Linked DNA regions of Homo sapiens: region 1 is linked to region 2. The links are contacts of gene promoters, found by promoter capture Hi-C in human tissues and cell types (Jung and others, 2019). All regions are on one chromosome and are shown on one strand. The core of a region is centred on a gene start or on the middle of the fragment in contact, and the rest is flanking DNA. Distances in the headings are between cores, read along the strand shown. Region 1 overlaps PUM2 (pumilio RNA binding family member 2). Region 2 holds the start of WDR35 (WD repeat domain 35).

Evidence for each region. The method cuts DNA at HindIII sites, captures the fragments that hold promoters and counts their contacts. A contact is called where the count stands out against the background at its distance.
Region 1: a contact is called between a fragment that was not itself captured here and the fragment with the promoter of WDR35 in region 2, in 2 of the 25 tissues and cell types used here (IMR-90 fibroblasts and aorta).

What each region holds. Positions count from the first base shown.
Region 1 is chr2:20,266,929-20,272,759 of GRCh38, reverse strand. The region is part of intron 13 of PUM2 (pumilio RNA binding family member 2); the gene reads left to right. Among named protein-coding and RNA genes, the nearest start is that of SDC1, 45 kb to the right of the region's middle. The HindIII fragment of the contact is 7,481 bases long and covers 1-5,831 here.
Region 2 is chr2:19,988,793-19,994,418 of GRCh38, reverse strand. WDR35 (WD repeat domain 35) reads left to right here and starts at 4,314. Exons shown (of 27, transcript NM_020779.4): 1 at 4,314-4,427; 2 at 5,137-5,254. The coding sequence starts at 4,404. WDR35-DT (WDR35 divergent transcript) reads right to left here and starts at 4,215. Exons shown (of 3, transcript NR_110235.1): 1 at 3,925-4,215. It overlaps MATN3 (matrilin 3), which reads left to right. Exons shown (of 8, transcript NM_002381.5): 7 at 10-120; 8 at 1,253-2,367. The coding sequence ends at 1,308. RefSeq lists a silencer at 4,094-4,173 and enhancers at 4,334-4,383, 4,014-4,517, 4,534-4,583. The HindIII fragment of the contact is 18,147 bases long and covers 1-5,626 here.

The DNA.
Region 1 (5,831 bases), core at 998-3,497, 280 kb before region 2:
TAAAGATACCAGCTTTCTTCTAGTTGGTCTAAAGATTGAACGCTATCAATAAAATTAGGTTTTAAAAAGAAATTGATAAGCTGATGCAAAAAATGAAAATGGAAAAGCAGAACCAAAAGTAGTGAAGACAGTTTTGAAAAGCAAAGTTAGAAAACTTAATACTGCTGGATACCAGAACTTAGAAAGCTACAGTAACTAAAACTACGGTATTGGCACAAGGATAAATAAATAGAACAGCGGAACAGAGTAGTGCATCCAGAAATAGACCTACTCATTTAGATACCTAATGACCAAGTTGCCACTCCAGTGTATATGAGAAAAACAGGTGTTTCAGTGACTTGGGCAGGAGTAGTTGAATATCCAAATGAGGGGGAATGAACTTTGACTTCTGTTTCACACCACACATACACATATGCACACAAACACGCTTTATTCTCAAAGAAATTACGTGACTTATATTCATGAAGTTAGTAAGAGGCAGAACCAAAATTTTGAGCCCACGTTTATCTGGCTTCTTCCAGATGTTGTACTGCTTCTCAAAGGATGCTTTTCTATTTATTTATTTATTTATTCATTCATTCATTCATTCATTCATTCATTCATTTGACGAAGTCTTGCTCTGCCCCCCAGGCTGGAGTGCAATGGTGCGATTTCAGCTCACTGCAGCCTGTCTCCCAGGTTCAAGCGATTCTCCTGCCTCAGCCTCCTGAGTAGTGGGGATTACAGGCGCCTGCCAGCACGCCCAGCTAATTTCTGTATTTTTAGTAGAGACGGGTTTTCACCATGTTGGTCAGGCTGGTCTTGAACTCCTGACCTCAGGTGATCCACTTGCCTCGGTCTCCCAAAGTGCTGGGATTACAGGTGTGAGCCACCATGCCTGGTCAGGATGCTTTTATTTCTAATACCTATCCGAATAAATTAAAAGGACCATGTTTCCTATGTTTCACATCTTTGTAAACTTTTTATAAAATTGTAGTAAAATATAATTTAACCTATTGTGACTTTGTGGAAAAAGTGAGTTTGAATGTCAGTGTTATTGGCTTTTTTGGGTTTTTCACTTGCTAACAATTGATCTTTAATCCAAATTAAATGCTATTTACTTTAAGGGTCTTTTAAATATTTCATTACTAATTTTAAGTTAAAACTGATCATGTACAGTGGCTCATGCTTGTAATCCCAGCATTTTGGGAGGCTGAGGCGGGAGTATTGCTTGAGCTCAGGAGTTCGAGACCAGCCTGGGCAATGTGGCGAAACCCCGTCTCTATTAAAAATACAAAAATTAGCCGGGTGCGGTGACATGTGCCTGTAGTCCCAGCCACTTGAGAAGCTGAAGTGGGAGAATCGCTTGAACCCAGGAGACGGAGGTTGCAGTAAGCCGACGTTATGCCACTGCATTCCAGCCTGGGCATGACAGATCGAGACCCTGTCTCAGAAAAACAGAAAAGAATCTTGTTTGTAATACTTTAAAATACTGTAAATAGTATATAAATAGCAAGTTTTGTTTTTATTTCTAATTACTGAAAGTAATTGCTATTTTATCTTTTCTATAGTTTTATTAGACTCCTTTTTAGAATTATGTGATTAAAATTGTTACTTATTCAATATTGAATATCTGTGTTCAATACAATATTGAAGCCAGCCTCTGCTTGACTAGGAGAAAAAAACATCCTTATTCACTGTCATCGAGTTTGTAGCTTTGTGGTAAATACAGATAAAAACAGCAGTTACAATATAATGATTGTAATGTTCTTGTCTTATTTCACTTTATTTCATAATCTTATTCTGTAGAAACATAGTGATTTCATTGGAATTATTTTCCTTTATGGGTTTTTTGAACCAAAATTAGCACACATTGGATTATAATGGAATTGTTTCTAGGTTTATTTTCTCCACTAGATTAGAAACAAGAAAGCCCAGGCCTTTTTCTACAACTAAAAATACTCAGATTTCATTGAATGTTTGGGTAATTGAATTTGAGTGGTTTTGTTTCTTTGTTTTATTGATGAATTTATTATTGAGTAAGGACACTTCCTTTTTAAAAATTACTTGGTATCCTACATAGATTACTATATTAAAGCATTATTTGGCTGTTCTCAATCAGTGTTTTCTTTGTTCAGTGTGCCAAGATCATACTCTTTAGAACATTGCATTATGAAAATGAAGTTTTGACAGTCAGTTGTGGAGTTTTTGTTTTGTGTGTGTGTGTGTTTATTTGTTTTTTACCTTCCCAGTTCTTCAGCCCTCTTCCCACCACCACAATGACCCCATCAAGAGAGACAATAAATGTACCCATAATGTTTGTGTAGGATCAGAATTTATTCCAGTATTCACAGCTTTTGAAGCAAGCTTTAAGATTGCATAAATCCTTAGTAATCATGGTTTAAGAGAAACAATCCCAGCTCCTATAATTTTTCTTCACTCCAATCAGAAAGGCAACTGGCCATGAAATCTCAGCTGGAATATTTAAAAGGAAATTCAGATATGGCTTGCTCGTTTGTTAACTTATTACCAAATGTATTAACCAAAGGAAAGAATTTAGGCCAAATCTGACAGGGTCATATGACATATGCAGGGAAAAGCCAACAGGTTCCTATTAGGCTACTCGAACTCATCCTACTACTACTACTCTTTTGCGGGGTTAGGGGTAGGTTTTTTAAAATGTTCTTGTGTCCATCAGTCACAAGAGGAGGTAGTTTTCACTAAAGATAAAAAATTGAGGCAACTTTTGGAACTATACATTACCCCCTTTTGATAGGGTAATGGAAATTGACAGGGTGGGTTATTGATGGAAATGATGTCATAACTAGTCTGAAGACTATGTTATGTTAACTAAGTATGTTATTACTTAGTCTGTTTAAATTCCCCTTGATGAATGAGGGAAGATTGTTAAATACCTTGTATGGTGATAGTCTGCCCTTTATTTTTTTAAGTTTAACCAGTAAAGACTATAATAAAAGGTAAGATTTTTAAAAATTGCTGATAGAAAAGAATCACAAGCAATAGAAACGGAAACAACAGATTTTTATTTTGTATTTTAGAACACTTGGCTTGTAATTTGCATCTAATGTTTGCTTGCATATTGTCATAAAATTAACAGTTTTAAGGTAGTACGTTTGACATGTGTGTATTTTTATAACAGCCTATTAAAATGATGTGGAAGATTATACTTTTAAATATGCCCACTTTGTTTTTTTAAACTCATTGTAGTCTTAGTCTTTCCTCCAATAAAATTGTTGTGTCTTTATATGGCAAATGTATAGTTATTATAAGCATTCTCACGCATGTGATCCCAGCACTTTGGGAGGCCAAGGCAGGTGGATCACGAGGTCAGGAGATCAAGACCATCCTGACTAACATGGTGAAACCCTGTCTCTACTAAAAATAAAAAAAAATTAGCCGGGCGTGGTGGCGGGTGCCTGTAGTCCCAGCTACTCGGGAGGCTGAGGCAGGAGAATGGCGTGAACCTGGGAGGCGGAGCTTGCAGTAAGCTGAGACCGTGCCACTGCACTCCAGCCTGGGTGACAGAGTGGCACTCCGTCTCAAAAATAATAATAATTATTATTATTATTAAAATTTTATTCAGTTTATACCTCATGTAGCTTCAGTCATTTTGCAGACTTAAGAATGGCATGTGAGATTAAACATTCTCTAGGAAGCATAGCAGAGTATGACTGACAACTTTACATGAATTTTTTAGACATAATGGTAAACAAAAATTCAGCCTAATTATTAGCTGTGCTTTCTTGGATAAGTTATTTAGATTCTCTAAGCTGTTGTCTCACAAGTAAAATGGAGATATGTCTGCCTCATAGGCTATTAAGAGGATAGCATTCTCATACAGCAGTGTTACAAATGATGTATCATAAAATAATAGTCCAACCACCTGCCACATTTCAGAAACAAAAAAAGATTTATACTTTACATGCAATAGACATACAAAAAATTTTAAATTCTGAGGGAAAAAAATGAAAATGCCCCACACATTTGAGTCATTTATATATTAATCTGGAAAGAAATGCTATCTTTCTGTAACTTCTGTTTTATATTTTTATTTCAGCATTCACCCTGTGTGCATGAGCTGTATTAAATGTATCTGACATACATATATATATATATATTTTGTTTGTTTTGTTTTGTTTGTTTAGACAGGGTCTTGCTCTATTGCCCAAGCTAGAGTGCAGTGGTGCAGTCTCTGCTCACTGTAACCTTCGCCTCCTGGGTTCAAGCAATTCTCCTGTCTCAGCCTCCCGAGTAGCTGGGACTACAGGCGTACGCCACCACACCCAGCTAATTTTTTTACACATACATATAGTGGAGATGGGGTTTCACTGTGTTGGCCAGGCTGGTCTTGAACTCTTAACCTCAAGTGATCCGCCCACCTCAGCCTCCCAAAGTGCTGGGATTACAGGCCTGAGCCACCGCATGGGGCATACTTACTTTGATTTTTATTTGCAATTACTAGTTGAAAATCTGTTGTAAAATGAAGAATTAAATTATTTTTATTCTAATTAATTAGTCCCCATACTCTTCTATCAGAATATCCTTCAGGTGGATTTTCCAGAAGGAGTAATTATCTATGTCTTAAGTAAGGGTCAGGAATCTGTATTCTTAAACAGGCCTCATAGATTGAGTAGCTGTCATTCCAATCCCAGAGGGTAGAAAATAATGAAAAATGAAGGCTAGACAGATTTCTTTATTTTGTGGTGGTTTCACTTACGGTCTCCCCCAGCACCCCTTGCCCCGCGGAGGACCTGCTTTATCTCCACAGATTCTGCATCCTTGGATAAAGGTGAAACTTGTAGATACGGAGGTCTTGCCTTTCGTATCCATAGTTTACATAAGGCTAAACTACTGGAGTTCAGCTTCCACAGATTTTTGGTTTCTTGTGTGGGTCCTGGAACCAATTAAAGTTCTCATGAATGAACATGAAAGATGTAAATAGCACAGAAGATTGGCACACTGTCGTATGAGATAAGCTCTGGCCTAAGGGTCTTGGCTGACTAGCTGCATGTCCCATACCTTTTGGACCATTGGACCATTGGACCATAGTGACCTCATCTGTGGAATTATAGTACTGATCTACATGTCCTATATACACTCTTAGGCAGATAGTGATTAAACAGTCATGAATGATAGTGGGGACTGAATGACGAAATGAAAAGACCTTATCTCTTTTAATACTTTTGGTGCAGAACATAGCTGCTTTTAGACTACCAGCAGCAGAAGTATGAATATGGATGACCTGTTTATGTGTTTGTTTTTAACCAATTCTGGGATAATTTGAGACTAATGGGAAAATTGCAAAACTATACCCTTCACCCATGTTTTCCAGATGTTACCGCTTTATCACATTGGCTGTATGATTCTCTCTCCCTCTCTTCTTCCCCTCATCCACAACACTATTTGGGTTTACTTTTGAAAGGAAGTTGCAAGTGGGCCAGCGTGGTGGCTCACCTCTGTAATCTCAGCACTTTTGGAGGCTGAGGTGGGCAGATCACTTGAGGTCAGGAGTTTGAGACCAGCCTAGCCAACATGGTGAAACCCCGTCTCTACTAAAAAAAAATACAAACTTAGCCGGGCATGGTGGTACGCACCTGTAATCCCAGCTACTCGGGAGGCTGAGGCAGGAGAATCACTTGAACCCAGGAAGGGGAGATTGCAGTGAGCCAAGATTGCATCACTGCACTCCAGCCTGGGTGACAGAGTGAGACCTGTCTCAAAAAAAAAAAAAAAGTTACAGGCATGATGTCCCTTACTCAAAAGTACATTAGTGTATGTTTCTTGACAGTAAGTATATGTTTTCATATAACCACAATTTCTGAAGTCAGGAA
Region 2 (5,626 bases), core at 3,065-5,564:
TGTCTTCAGCCACTGAGGAAGCACGAAGACTTGTTTCCACTGAAGATGCTTGTGGATGTGAAGCTACACTGGCATTCCAGGACAAGGTCAGCTCGTATCTTCAAAGACTGAACACTAAACATATCCTTTCTGGAAGGTTTTCTCCTTCTGCCTGGAGCCAACCAAGGTACTACGATCGAGCCAAACACTTTAAGACATTCCACAGGCAAGTGACTTATTTGTTAGGTTTTAATATGAGCAGTGGTAATATACAACTTTAAAAAATTTAGAGTTCTTTTCTAATGGTTTAATAGACTGTTTCACCCATTCAATATTTACATGTAAAAGCTGCCTATTTTGTCCCCTAGTGCTTTTCCATAACTGTATATGCTCCTAATGATGCTCTTACATAACAGATGGAACATTTATGCTAATGACTCCTTAATATGGCTTTCTTAGTTCAGAATCTGAACATGTACAAAGCAAGTCAGCTGATTAATGGGGTGTGATATCTCAGATTACACACAGTTGTACCCTTTGACTAGCCAAGTGGTCAAAAAGCAGATTTTAAAATGTAACATGATACAATCTCAGAAACTTTCAAAATCAGTTCTTTCTTCAAAGGAGTAACTAGGGAAAAGTTTCTCAGAACAGTTCAAGTTAACAACTCTGTTCCTATGTACCCCAGAGGAGTGGAATTTAGATTGTGGTAGGTACAATCTAGGCGTATGTAGAGACTTTTAAGGGAGGTACAGATAATTGGAAAGAATCAATTTCCAAATCCTTCACTTGCTTAAGACACTACTTGGAATCAGCTGGCATTTTCTTTTCCCGTCTCTCATTTCCATATCACCATTCTCCTAACTTCACACAAGAAAGGCATACTTCTCATTTACCCTAGATCTACTAAGGTGCATTTGTTAGAACAGCAGAATCTTGAGATAGCCAAACAAAGGGACAATCCAACTATCCCTTTAATCAATACTTCATAAACACTGCTTCCCCCATCCCTCACACTAAGATGCTACTCCAATTACATTTTATATGAACAAAAACATCTGAAGACCACTGCAGGGGTCTACTTTTATTGTGCTCTCTGAAGAACAGGATTTTTGACTTTTAGACTGAATTCAACTTTTGGTGAGAAAACAGTTTTGCTCTTTTTTTTCACTTCTCATAGGACATAATTATTTTATCTTGTGAAGTGTTTGAAAGTGTGTTTATATTTTCTAATGTGTAAAAATAAATGGTGTTGGCCTTAACAACTTGCCACTTGATGACATTTTGGAGAAGTTGAAAATAAATGAATATGGACAAATACATCGTTAAATTGCTCCAATTTCTCACCTGAAAATGTGGACAGCTTGGTGTACTTAATACTCATGCATTCTTTTGCACACCTGTTATTGCCAATGTTCCTGCTAATAATTTGCCATTATCTGTATTAATGCTTGAATATTACTGGATAAATTGTATGAAGATCTTCTGCAGAATCAGCATGATTCTTCCAAGGAAATACATATGCAGATACTTATTAAGAGCAAACTTTAGTGTCTCTAAGTTATGACTGTGAAATGATTGGTAGGAAATAGAATGAAAAGTTTAGTGTTTCTTTATCTACTAATTGAGCCATTTAATTTTTAAATGTTTATATTAGATAACCATATTCACAATGGAAACTTTAGGTCTAGTTTCTTTTGATAGTATTTATAATATAAATCAATCTTATTACTGAGAGTGCAAATTGTACAAGGTATTTACACATACAACTTCATATAACTGAGATGAATGTAATTTTGAACTGTTTAACACTTTTTGTTTTTTGCTTATTTTGTTGGAGTATTATTGAAGATGTGATCAATAGATTGTAATACACATATCTAAAAATAGTTAACACAGATCAAGTGAACATTACATTGCCATTTTTAATTCATTCTGGTCTTTGAAAGAAATGTACTACTAAAGAGCACTAGTTGTGAATTTAGGGTGTTAAACTTTTTACCAAGTACAAAAATCCCAAATTCACTTTATTATTTTGCTTCAGGATCCAAGTGACAAAGTTATATATTTATAAAATTGCTATAAATCGACAAAATCTAATGTTGTCTTTTTAATGTTAGTGATCCACCTGCCTCAGCCTCCCAAAGTGCTGGGATTACAGGCTTGAAAGTCTAACTTTTTTTTACTTATATATTTGATACATATAATTCTTTTGGCTTTGAAACTTGCAACTTTGAGAACAAAACAGTCCTTTAAATTTTGCACTGCTCAATTCTGTTTTTCGTTTGCATTGTCTTTAATATAATAAAAGTTATTACCTTTACATATTATCATGTCTATTTTTGATGACTCATCAATTTTGTCTATTAAAGATATTTCTTTAAATTATACTGAATTAACAGTTATTTTGATATTCAACAGTTTCTTATCAAAAGACAGAAGTTTGATTCTCCTCCTATAGTTTAATCTCACACTCCTGAGGCTAAAAGTGTAAGTTCAGGTTCAAAAGAAAGGCTTCAATATAAAATTATCTAAATTTGGATAAAATAATGATGAGCTTTACATTAATATAAGCTCCTGAGAAGCAAATATATCCTACAGATGTAAATATAAAATATAAACTTTAAGGAAGGAACAAAAACTAAATATACCAAGGAAATATATAAAGCATCTCTTACTTTTCAAAAATTTTGAAAGGGTATGACATAGAGCTACAGTAGTATTTTCCAGACTTTTTTGAGCCCAAAATCAGTAATACATATTAATATACCACAGAGAAATGGTGGTATAGAAGGAATAAATGAGAGTTCATGTGCAAGAAGGGAAAGATAAAGAGAGGTGAGTTTTCAGGTGTCACCATCAGTAACTAGCTTCAACTAATTATGTCTTGACCAGTTTATTGGAAACTCCTGGGTTAGATAATACTAATTTGTCTCATGCGTCCAGTATAGGGAGCCTATGGACAGGGGCCAATGTATCTTAAACAGACACACAAACAATGGAAAGCAAACATTATCTGAATGGGATTGGGTTAAGTTTGGAAAGAATTCCTCATGGAGACTGATTTGTGCTGGTTTGGCTAGGCACAACTGGCCTGTTAAGAGGGTAGGACCATATATAAAGTGGCTTGGGAAGCAGAGCCGGATGGAATGTTGCCCTGCAGAAAGCATATTGGCTTACTTGAGGTGGGGGCTCCCTAGTAAAAACATTTAGGATTGAGGGAAGATCTGATTTTGGATGGAGTTTAGATTTGCTAGGAAAGGCACTAGGGACTATTGTCAATTCTATAATAGATTGTGCTGGGTGAGACAAATCACCCAGGTCAAAGGATTGGAGGATTTTTATTTTATTTTTGTCTGAGATGGGAAAAGACTCCAAGTGGGGAAATTAACTACTGATGCATAAATTACATGCTAGATTATGGTAAAAGGGAAAACCAGAAATAAAAACATAGGTGAGACCAAATAATTTCATGAGTGGTTCTACTTGGATTTCTGCCCTATGCCTTAGACTTTGAGGCTTTGTAACTCTCAAGCATTCCAAAAGGACAAAGGAGAATGAAGAAAGAAGGTAAGAAAAAGAAGAGAATATGTAACAGTCGACTCTAGACGAGAAAACACCAAACGCTCAAATATTTGTAAAATGGGAGGCCATGCCCCAATAGCAATTGTACGCTGTAATTACCCAACGTTTACAGAAATTCCTTTAAAAGGACCCTCGGGGTTGCGGTAATAATTAAACTGTTAAAAAATATCAAAACAAGCGGAATAAACAAAATCTTCTATTCCTAAATTGCTCTAGAGGTTCTCCAATCCCCAAAGACACAGAGAAGGGTTGTAAGATCTCAGTACGCACATTTGCACTTTCATCTGGCCAGTGGCGCCAGCCTATCAAATACAGTAAATGGCTTTTCCCTTTCAAGAATGTTGGAACTTTGGAACTTACAAAATACTAAATAATTTGCCCTTATTCGAACGGGCGCCTCTCCTCTTAGGTTTATAGTAATGCCACCTGAGGCGCGGCTCCATAGCGATCATCACAGGTGTGGCGGGAGGGAGGGCGGCAGTGACCACGAGACGGGGCGCAGAGGGCGAGCGCACGGCTGGCAGTGACAGGTCGCGACCCAGCTCCTTGCGGAGAGCAGAAAGGCCCAGACGCCAGGGAACAGGACTAGCCCAGCTACCGCCTCGCGCCTCGCGCCCTGCGCCCACAAACCCATCGACGTCCGCGCAGGCGCACTACGCCGGTGCCCGGTGCGAGGGCGTCACCGGAAGTGTCCCGCGGCGCCCCGGATGCGACCGGGCAACAGCGGTTGCCAGGGCGACGGGAGCTTTCCGGAGCTGCTGGTACTCCCGATTGGAGACGTAGAACCGTTACTTGTCGAGGGCCTTAGCGGCCGCCGTGACCCTCTCGGGGATCCCACGATGTTCTTCTACCTGAGCAAGAAAGTGAGTTTCCTGGGGGGCGTCCTCGTTTCTCCGCCATTCCCGCAGCCTGCGGCGATTCCCGCTGCCTTCCCGAGAAGCCAGGCTCCTTCACCCGGTCCTGGTCGTGGCTTCGCCATTCCGCAGCCATCCTTCCCGCCGGGTCCAGCCTCCGACCTCTTCCTGCGGTTCCCAGAGCCTCAGTCTTTGGCCGAGCTTGCTGCCCTCTCGCAGCACTCTCCCATTCCTGCCCCTGGCTAGGTCCTTTTGGGTGGCTTGAGGATAAGTCGCCACGTGCTACCCTATGTTTCCTCCTCCACTTGTTGCTGATCCACGTGATTTAAACTCTTTGGATCACCACGAGCCATTGGGCAAGAGAAAAGAAATAACAATAGGATAGCCTAAGTTGTAGGTAAAAAGGAAGAGGGACTGGTGGTATGGATTTATACCCTCTCCCCGTCCTCCCTTTAAAAAATCCATCCGGTGAGACTCTGGCGTTGGCTTCCTCCGCAGTCACTATCCTTCTCTTTTGTGCACTTCTTTCCCTCTTTCCCAAATGCTAGAGCCCGGGTCAGTTCAGGGGACCATGCCCATTTTCACAACAGCTCATTTTTTTTCTGCAAGGCCGTTCGTTTTTCTTCTTGGAAGATTTTCTTCAGCTTTCATCTCCTGCAGACTTACTTCCCAGCTCCTTCGTGAAAAGTTGCTAGTGCGGCTGTGGTTGCTTTTTCAGATTTCCATTCCCAATAACGTGAAGCTGCAGTGTGTATCCTGGAACAAGGAACAAGGGTTCATAGCATGCGGTGGTGAAGATGGATTACTGAAAGTTTTGAAATTAGAGACGCAGACAGGTAAATGAATGCAAGCCCACATGTTTGGTAGTAAATTGGCTAATGTTATTTGTTCAGTGCGGTCTACTCATGTTATCTGTCAATATGCAGTTCTGATTATTTTAAAGGGAAAACTACCAAAACATTTTATGGTGTTTTTCTGGAGTATATTTGCAATAAAGTTCAGAGAATGTTGAATGTAAACATCGGATGGTTTTTGCTGAGTTATTAATGGAAAATGAAAAATAATGAAGAATGAAAATAAGTCACTGTGTTATGCTATGTCTAATTATTGTACTATATTATTAGGAGTCTAAAAGAAATCCTGTGAGTCAACATTTCACTAAGAAAATCTGGCAGATTGTTTACAGGTCTGTGTCATCCTTTCTGCTT